Linked DNA regions of Homo sapiens: all the other regions are linked to region 2. Evidence: promoter capture Hi-C in 16 types of primary human blood cells and fetal thymus (Javierre and others, 2016). All regions are on one chromosome and are shown on one strand. Each heading gives the region's core, a stretch centred on a gene start or on the middle of the fragment in contact. The rest is flanking DNA. Distances are from core to core; before and after follow the strand shown. Region 1 overlaps KCNIP1 (potassium voltage-gated channel interacting protein 1). Region 2 holds the start of TLX3 (T cell leukemia homeobox 3). Region 3 holds the start of LOC107986474 (a long non-coding RNA gene).

The links. Contacts are between HindIII fragments. The CHiCAGO score rates a contact against its expected background, and 5 or more counts as called.
Region 1: a fragment that was not itself captured here is called in contact with the fragment with the promoter of TLX3 in region 2 in 1 of 17 cell types (M1 macrophages); the score reaches 5.2 in M1 macrophages.
Region 3: a contact is called between a fragment that was not itself captured here and the fragment with the promoter of TLX3 in region 2, in 1 of 17 cell types (M0 macrophages). The highest score is 6.6, in M0 macrophages.

What each region holds. Positions count from the first base shown.
Region 1 is chr5:170,684,646-170,687,345 of GRCh38, forward strand. All of the region lies in intron 1 of KCNIP1 (potassium voltage-gated channel interacting protein 1), which reads left to right. Among named protein-coding and RNA genes, the nearest start is that of KCNIP1-AS1, 4.5 kb to the left of the region's middle. The HindIII fragment of the contact is 6,169 bases long and covers 1-2,700 here.
Region 2 is chr5:171,307,891-171,310,590 of GRCh38, forward strand. TLX3 (T cell leukemia homeobox 3) reads left to right here and starts at 1,358. Exons shown (of 3, transcript NM_021025.4): 1 at 1,358-1,896; 2 at 2,260-2,503. The coding sequence starts at 1,476. RefSeq lists enhancers at 1-849, 850-1,735, 1,736-2,620, 2,621-2,700. The HindIII fragment of the contact is 15,951 bases long and covers 1-2,700 here.
Region 3 is chr5:170,749,996-170,752,695 of GRCh38, forward strand. All of the region lies in intron 1 of LOC107986473 (a long non-coding RNA gene), which reads right to left. It overlaps LOC107986474 (a long non-coding RNA gene), which reads right to left and starts at 2,411. Exons shown (of 2, transcript XR_001742977.2): 1 at 2,128-2,411; 2 at 1,404-1,762. RefSeq lists enhancers at 1,217-2,101, 2,102-2,700. The HindIII fragment of the contact is 3,196 bases long and covers 1-2,700 here.

The DNA.
Region 1 (2,700 bases), core at 119-2,618, 620 kb before region 2:
GGAGGATGAGAAATAGCAGCCTTGACCTCCCACCAGCGGGAGTTTCCCTCCTTCATCCCTGGTCACTGGCCACACAAGGACCTGGCATCTCCCAGTAAATGTGTTCCTCTGCAACCTGAGCCACAAACCTCTCTCTCTTTTATCTCTTTCCTCTTTCTACCTTCATATTTGGTTGGCTATTTTTAGTTCTTCTGCAGATATAGTTACACTTTAAATGACACACAGCCTTTAATTACTTACATGTTGACTTGAAGCAATGTCTGTTGCTCACCTTCTTGGAAATATCAGAAGACAAGAACACTTTTACTTCCTCCTCCTTCTCCCATCCTTCTCTCTGTCTACTTAATCTGTTTATCATATTCTCATTTTTACACCATCAAGGTTTATAATGCTCCCAGAACATACCTCCTTCAAGGTAAATGGGAATGGTAACCTTTGGCCTCTCCTTGCCCATAAGGACAACCCAGTCTCCTGCTCTGCGTGGGTTCCCAATTTGGCCCTAAGACTTTTCTGTTTGTATGATCAGCAAAAGGACATCAAATACTTTCCATCCTCCAATGAGCAGAACACATTCTGTGGTCAGAAGCCTTCTCATTACTTCTGATCTCAAAGGGACATCCAGAGTTGCCCAAACCCAGGCCAACCACCCTTCCATTTAGCCACAGCCTGAAGATCCCAACTATGATCAACAAATAAGACTGACTCCAGATCCCACTCTGCCAACTGCCTACCTAATACCCAGACTCTTGCAGCTGAGAGAGTCTCTTCTAAAATCCAGCCCAAAAGGCACACTAGATGTGAGGACCAGAATATCTTGTATTTTGTAGTCTATTATAGCAAGCATAATAAACTTATTTGTTTGAGACCGAGTCTCACTCTGTCGCCCAGGCTGAAGTACAGTGGCACGATCTCAGCTCACTGAAACCTCTGCCTCCCGGGTTTAAGCGATTCTACTGCCTCAGCCTCCTGAGTAGCTGGGATTACAGGCATGTGCCACCGTGCCTGGCTAATTTTTGTATTTTTAGTTGAGACATGGCTTCCCCATGTTGACCAGGCTAGCCTCGAACTCCTGACCTCAGGTGATCCACCCACCTCGGCCTCCCAAAGTGCTGGGATTACAGGTGTGAGCCACTGCCCAGCCGATAAACTTTAAAATTACTTTTTCTATTCCATATCATAGATTCTGGGAGGAAACAAGGCCCAATTTGAGTAAAAGCAACTGCATTTAGCTGGCTTGAACTTCTTCAGAGAAAGAACAACATAAAATATTCAGCTCATCTGATTTTTTAATGACATTTCCTTTTTATTTATATTCAATTACACAAGTAATACATGAACAGATTCTCCCTTTTTTAAACCATCCCTTATTCTACAGATCAGGTGAAAGTACTTGTTGCTGGCCTGTACTTCCCATCCCCACTTTTGTCCCCAGGACAAAGTACTATCAGGATACTAGCATTCAGAGTGAGCAGATTCCTAGTACTGACATAAGGAGGATCACCATCTAATTTTTAAATTTTAAAAAATGAACACAAAGTCTATTAGAGGAATGAAATGAACCTGCTTTGTAGGTACATAATATTTCTCTCTCCAGAGAGAAAGGAGGAGAGCACACATAAGATAGGAAGATGAGAGCTACAATAAATGAGAGAAGAGAGAAACTGTCAGAAATAGCAGGGCAGAAAGAGGGAAAGAGGTGAGAATGAGAGAGAGGGGGAGGGAGGAACAGAGGAAGATGCGAACAAGGAGAGTCACTCAGTTCTGAGGCAAGCACTTGATTCTCCGTGGTTCATTTGGGTATCCAAGTAAGTTATTTCCTATAATCATTGGCCTTTAGGAGTCTGCTTAGCTAATTAACAGTTTGCAAATTGCCAATTGTTTTTTGTCCCGCATTCTCCAGAGACTTTACACTGCAAAGGCAGACCACAGCAGCCCACCTTACACTTGAGTTGTGGCCAAAGCACCATCCCCACCAGACAAAGCCAGCCCCACAGCTGACCCCGGCCTGTGAGTGTCTGAAAACTGGCTGTAAAGAACATTCTGTCTAGTTACTTCCTCAGTAAACTCTGGGGCTGGGCACTGGAGGTTTTCTGAAAGGAAGTGTTTGGTGTCTCACACAGCCATGTGCTTAGTATATTCCATGCAGCACTCCACTGAGCCAGTGCCCTTGAAATGAGCAAGCACTGCAGCCATCCTCCTTTATTTCCCTCAAGGCAATATCCAAGGATTAAAAAGTCAGAGCCGTCTGCAGATTCCTCCTCTCTACCTTGCCCTGCACTTTTTGTGCCCTTCCTCTTCCCCCTCTCCAGCCCCAAACCTCTCTCCTGATCCACGGTACTCCTCCTGGGATGTCCACTGGGGCTGATCCTCCCCCATTCTCCCCCTGAGTTCCCTGCTGTTAATCTGTCTCCAGCAAAATTAACCTAGCCTATGTCCCATGCCCTCTGGACTCTGGCTGCTCGTCAATCACTCTTAAAAATCCGGTTTCTCCTTAGGCAATCATTTTGTTTTGATTTTATGTGTAAAAAAACCTGAGTAAATTTTTTTTTTTTTTGAGATGGAGTCTTGCTCTGTTGCCCAGGCTAGAGTACAGTGGCATGATTTCTGCTCACTGCAACCTCCGCCTCCCGGGTTCAAGCGATTCTCCTGCCTCAGCCTCTTGAGTAGCTGGGACTACAGGTGCCCACCACCATGCCTGGC
Region 2 (2,700 bases), core at 108-2,607:
GCATGCATGCATTATTTTCCTTTTTTGCAAACGAGAAAACCGAAATCTAAATATATAGAGTCAATTTCTCAAGGTCACTCAGCGAGGAAATGGCCAGTCCAAATTTGAACACACTTCTGGCCAACAACAGCACATCCGAGCTCTCACCACTGTCCACACCACAAGGAGCGGGAGGAAGAACCCAGGCCAGGGGTGCGACACTCAAAGAGTTTGCACCTAACGATTTTAGAATTCGCTGGAAGAAAATGATTCCGCTTGTCTCCCCAAAGCTGCAGCGGAAGGTGACTACTTCGTGTGCGGTCCTGTCCACGGTGCCCTGGGCCGGGTAGACAGTCACTGAGGCGCGAGCAGAACGGGGAGTGGTTCCAGCGCCCAAAGTGGACTGGAGCCGGGAAGGGCTCACCAGTCGCGTTTCCCAAAGAAATCCCGCAATTTGCTCTAGGAGCTGCCCGCGCCTTTGACATTCAGGAACCCGAAGTCCCTAGACCCGCCGAGCCGCGAGCGGGTTCCCACGCGCGACCACAGCCCCCTTCCATCCTGCAACGAATTACGAGAGTCAGGTCCCCGCTCCCCACCGGGCGACCCCGCGTCCCTAGCCCAGCCGCAGCTGGCACGCGTGGGCACCTGCGAGTCACGCCTCGGTCCGCCTGGCCGGAGCCAGGGAGTGTCTCCAAAGTGGCCGCGAGGCCGCGGCCGAAACCCGGGCGGGGGCGAATTCTCCCCACGCGGGTCGGCGTCATCCGGGGCGCGGAGAACGCTACGGTGCTCCCCTCGCCCCGCGCGCAGGCAGCGCGAAGCCTGCCCCGGGTAGTGCGCCCCTTTCGTTCCTCCGGCGGCGGTAGCGTCCAAGGGGCTTCTGCGGATTCCGCCGGGTCGTCCCGGGGTTGCAACTCCATTGTACCTGAAAGGATGCATTTGGTTTGGCTTTTGCTCAGATGAAAAAAAAAAAAAATTGGAAGAAAACGAAAACCCACTCAGCAAAAGACAATTTCACAAGCGGAGCGCTCTACCCACCCAGCGCGGTGTCTGGGAAGCGGCCCGGCCCGGAGGAGCGGGGAGCGTCTGCTAATTGCAGCTTCGTTAGATTTCGGGTTTGGGAGGCTGTGGTTCGGGCTCTAATATCCGCCGCCCATTATCCCTGCTAATAAATTTGACCTATTGTTCGTTTGTTAAAATGATGTCACCTTGGAACAGTCCCTAAGCTCCTATTTCCATGAATTAGGCCTTTATTGAAAGCCGGGAGCCAATGAGAGGAGAGAGGCTTGTTGATCGCAGCCAATGGCTGCGGCAGGAGAGGAATTAGCAGCGGAAACTCCAGGTTCGGTTCAAGAAAGATGACACAGAGCCTGTCGGGCCCGCGCACTCTTGGCAAAGTTTCAGTGCGACGAGAGGCGCCGGGCGCTCCATGGCCGCGCCGTAACGGGGACCCAGCCGCCTCCCCGCCCAGCCCAGCCCAGCCCTTCCGCCCGCCCAGGATGGAGGCGCCCGCCAGCGCGCAGACCCCGCACCCGCACGAGCCCATCAGCTTCGGCATCGACCAGATCCTTAACAGCCCGGACCAGGACAGCGCACCCGCCCCGCGGGGCCCCGACGGCGCCAGCTACCTGGGAGGGCCCCCCGGGGGCCGTCCGGGCGCCACATACCCGTCTCTGCCCGCCTCCTTTGCGGGCCTCGGCGCGCCCTTCGAGGACGCGGGATCTTACAGTGTGAACCTGAGCCTAGCGCCCGCAGGCGTGATCCGGGTGCCGGCGCACAGGCCGCTGCCCGGGGCCGTGCCACCGCCTCTGCCAAGCGCGCTACCCGCCATGCCCTCCGTGCCCACGGTCTCCAGCCTTGGCGGTCTCAATTTCCCCTGGATGGAGAGCAGCCGCCGCTTCGTGAAAGACCGCTTCACAGGTGAGCAGAGCTGGCGACCAGGCTCCAGGCCTCCGCCCTCTCGGGGCCAGAGGCGCCGCGCCCTGTGCGCTCCACTCCCGGAAACCATTTCAGAGGCCCAAGCGCGGCGGAGGCCTCGGCCCCAGGGCCCCGGGCAGCCGTGGTGGGGAGGGTAATCGGAGAGTTGCAGGAAAATAAGCCCGTGCCCGGGGGAAGGGACAGGGGGCGAGGGGGTCTCCCGACCGGCTTGGTGTCTCTGGAAACGCGCGCGACCAGCGAAATAGCGGAGCTCTCCGTGTCCCACGGGGCGCCACGGGGTCCGCATGGGGCCTGAACGGTGGCGGAGCCGGGCTGGGCTTCAGGGGCCCTCCTGTGTCTCCGCAGCGGCGGCCGCACTCACGCCCTTCACCGTGACCCGGCGCATCGGCCACCCCTACCAGAACCGGACGCCGCCCAAGCGTAAGAAGCCGCGCACGTCCTTTTCCCGGGTGCAGATCTGCGAGCTGGAAAAGCGCTTCCATCGCCAGAAGTACCTGGCCTCTGCCGAGAGGGCGGCGCTCGCCAAGTCCCTCAAAATGACGGACGCGCAGGTCAAGACCTGGTTCCAAAACCGGAGGACCAAGTGGCGGTGAGAGAGGCCTGACCCGGCCCACCTTACACCTGCCCTTCACCTGTCCCGCCCCGAGCCGCAGCCTCGCACTAGCCCTATTTTAAGGCTATCCACTACCCCCGCCCCCCTCTGCCTCCCCCAAACACACCCCCACCCCGCCTTCGCAGATTGTACCTCTTCCTTTCACCCTTCTCGCTGGCCTGTGCTTCTCTCTC
Region 3 (2,700 bases), core at 34-2,533, 560 kb before region 2:
CAGATTGCTGGCAGAACCACCCTCAGCAGGTTAATAAGTTGACCTGAAAGCTGCCAGGGCAGTTTGGAACGTTTGCGATGAGGAACTTGTATTTAGTTTTTATAAGTTGTCACATAATCGCTTAGGGCGGCTCTTAAAATATGTCCAAACAAGGAGACAGTGAATAGGTCTGGAATAACAGTCCCCCTTCTGTTTCAGAACTGACAGTTTCAGCCAATAGGGAGAGGTGAATGGTAATGAGGGAAGAATGGGCTTTTTAGACACACCTGGTATTGAACCCTGACTCATGATGTGCTAACTGAGACTGGGCAAGGTGTCTCAGCTGCCTTATCCGGCTTCCTCCTTGGCCGTAGAGTCAAAACACATCCTTTGCCCCATCCTTTGAGGGTTCTCACCAAGGGAAGGGAATAAACACAGGGCAAACACCTAGGAGGCTGACACCCAACAGGCATCGAGAAATGTTCATTTTCTTCCTCCCTCCTACCGTCACCCTAGCTCTAGCTCTCATATCTAGGAACTAGAACAGCTGTCTACCCCCTCTCCCAGGCTTTGCCCAGAGCCCAGATGGTTTCTAGGCAGACCCATAGGATTTAAGGTCTTGCTAACAATTAAAAGCCATGAATCTCTTCCCCTCTTCCCTGCTCTGTTCTGAGTCCTGTGTGTCTATAGCTCATCTCATCTTCCCCATAGCCCTGAAGTAGATAGGAAAGATGATCATGTCCACAACTCAGAAAGGGTGAAATTAAGGCAGAGAGGTGAAGACACTTGCCCCATGTCACCAGTGGAGTGAGCTGATGATGGAGCCAGCACTTGAACCCAAACCATCCATCTAGGTCCAAAGCACACTAGTAGCACCATGCTACTACTCTGCCTCCTGAGCCACAAGACAGTAAGGATTAGATGTCCATGCTCAAGCATTGTAAGCAAAAGTAGCTAAGTAGAGAGGGTGAGGAGTCCAACAGGCTCAAGAAGGAGAGCAGATGCCAGCTGTGCTCGCTCAGAAATCGGAAACGCAGCTTGCAGCCTTTAGTGATAGAGCTGTACGCTTGAGGGGCTTCTTCCCAGAGAGAGGTCTGGGAGTCAGAAACACAGAGTGCAGTGTCCCCTGCTGAGTCAAACAGAGGCCAGACCAGGGGACACATCAGAGAAACGGCCCAGGAAAGGCTGGGACAGGCTCAGGACTCGCCCAGAGGTACTGCGCCCTGAGTAAACCTGTTTATTCTTTCAGAATAAGCTGGTGTCGGATGGAAAGGTCAATATTATTTAGTATTATTATTAGTTATTCTGGAATAACTACTTATATTTCTTATGTATTTTCCAGGTATTTCACATGCATTCTCTCATTTAAGACCCACGGCAACTCAGCAACATATTATCCCCTTTTACAGATGAGAAAGGGCTCATTGAGGCAAAGGGATTTATTTATTCAAGTTTACATGGCTGCCTGTGGCAGGGTTGGGTGAACCAGGGCTGCTCTGCCTCTGTGCCTGCTATGCCAAGTGAGAATAGGGTACTCATCCCAGGATCATCTTTGCAGGCATCCAGCTGTTTCCCGTGCCCACCTGCCCCCTCATTAGGTTCTGTAAGATCACCGTCCTGACCCCCAGGAGCACACTCACCCATGGGGTCAGGCTGCTATTAGAAATTCCTTCCAGAGATGCCAGGTGAGAGGGAGGCAGGCAGACAGACATCTGTGGGGGTCACATTCACCCCAGACAGTTCATTGCCGGAAGGAAGCCACATGCCTCACGTCGAAGCTCATCTGATTGGAGTCAGACACAGCCAGATACAGTCATGATTGTGTCCAGAGGCCCACGGGGGCTGGCGGGGCCCTTCACGACAGCTGCTACGGCACAGCCCATCTGGAAGGGCTCTTTTTGTTCAACGCTTTAACCCTCTGAGGACCCTCGGGACCAAGGGATGCCACACCCTGGGTGAGAGAGATACTCAAGGAGGAGGGTCCCTCTACAGAGGATGAGTTAGGACACCCGGGACGGGCCCACATTTTCCTCCCCACTCTGCTTCCCAGGTAGATTGAGGGTAGGAGGAGGCCCACATTCCACAGAGGAGAGACTGTGAGCCTCTTGAGTTTTAAGAATCTGTGAAGGAACACCCCCAAACACCTACCATGCACCCCCAAGCAAGTAAAGGGGCTCCCTGAGTTCCAGCAGCTTGAGTAAAGGCCCAGAAAGTGACCCTGTGAGGCTCATGGAGAAGGGAATGTTGAGGGCCCAGCCTGCACTGGGTGGGCAGCGCCCTGCCCCAACTTCCCGCAGGTTCCCAGGAAATGAACAAAAGGCTCCCTCAGCTCACTCGTTGGCAGATGTCTCTGACCTGAGGCCATTCATCAACTCTCACTCAGGCACTCAGCCCCCCAGACAGCCTGGAGGTGTTGGCAGCACACCAGAGAGACTTTCAGCCAAAGACAGGTCTGGTTTCCCTGAAGAAAAAGAAACCTGAACTGGCTGCCTTCCCAGAGCGTCTGCTTGGGGGACCCACCCAAGTAAACAAAGCTGTTAAATGGGGGCATGTGGGCCAAAGCCCGCTGCACTAGAAGCTCCCGCTGCAGCAGTGCTGCCCTGCCCCAGGCACCACTCTAGCAAGAGAGAGCCTCTCACCACCGTGGGGCCTGACCCTGCTGCTGACCAGCCTCTGCTACCCACAGCCTGGACCCTCTCTCCACCTGGAGCCCCTCTCCTT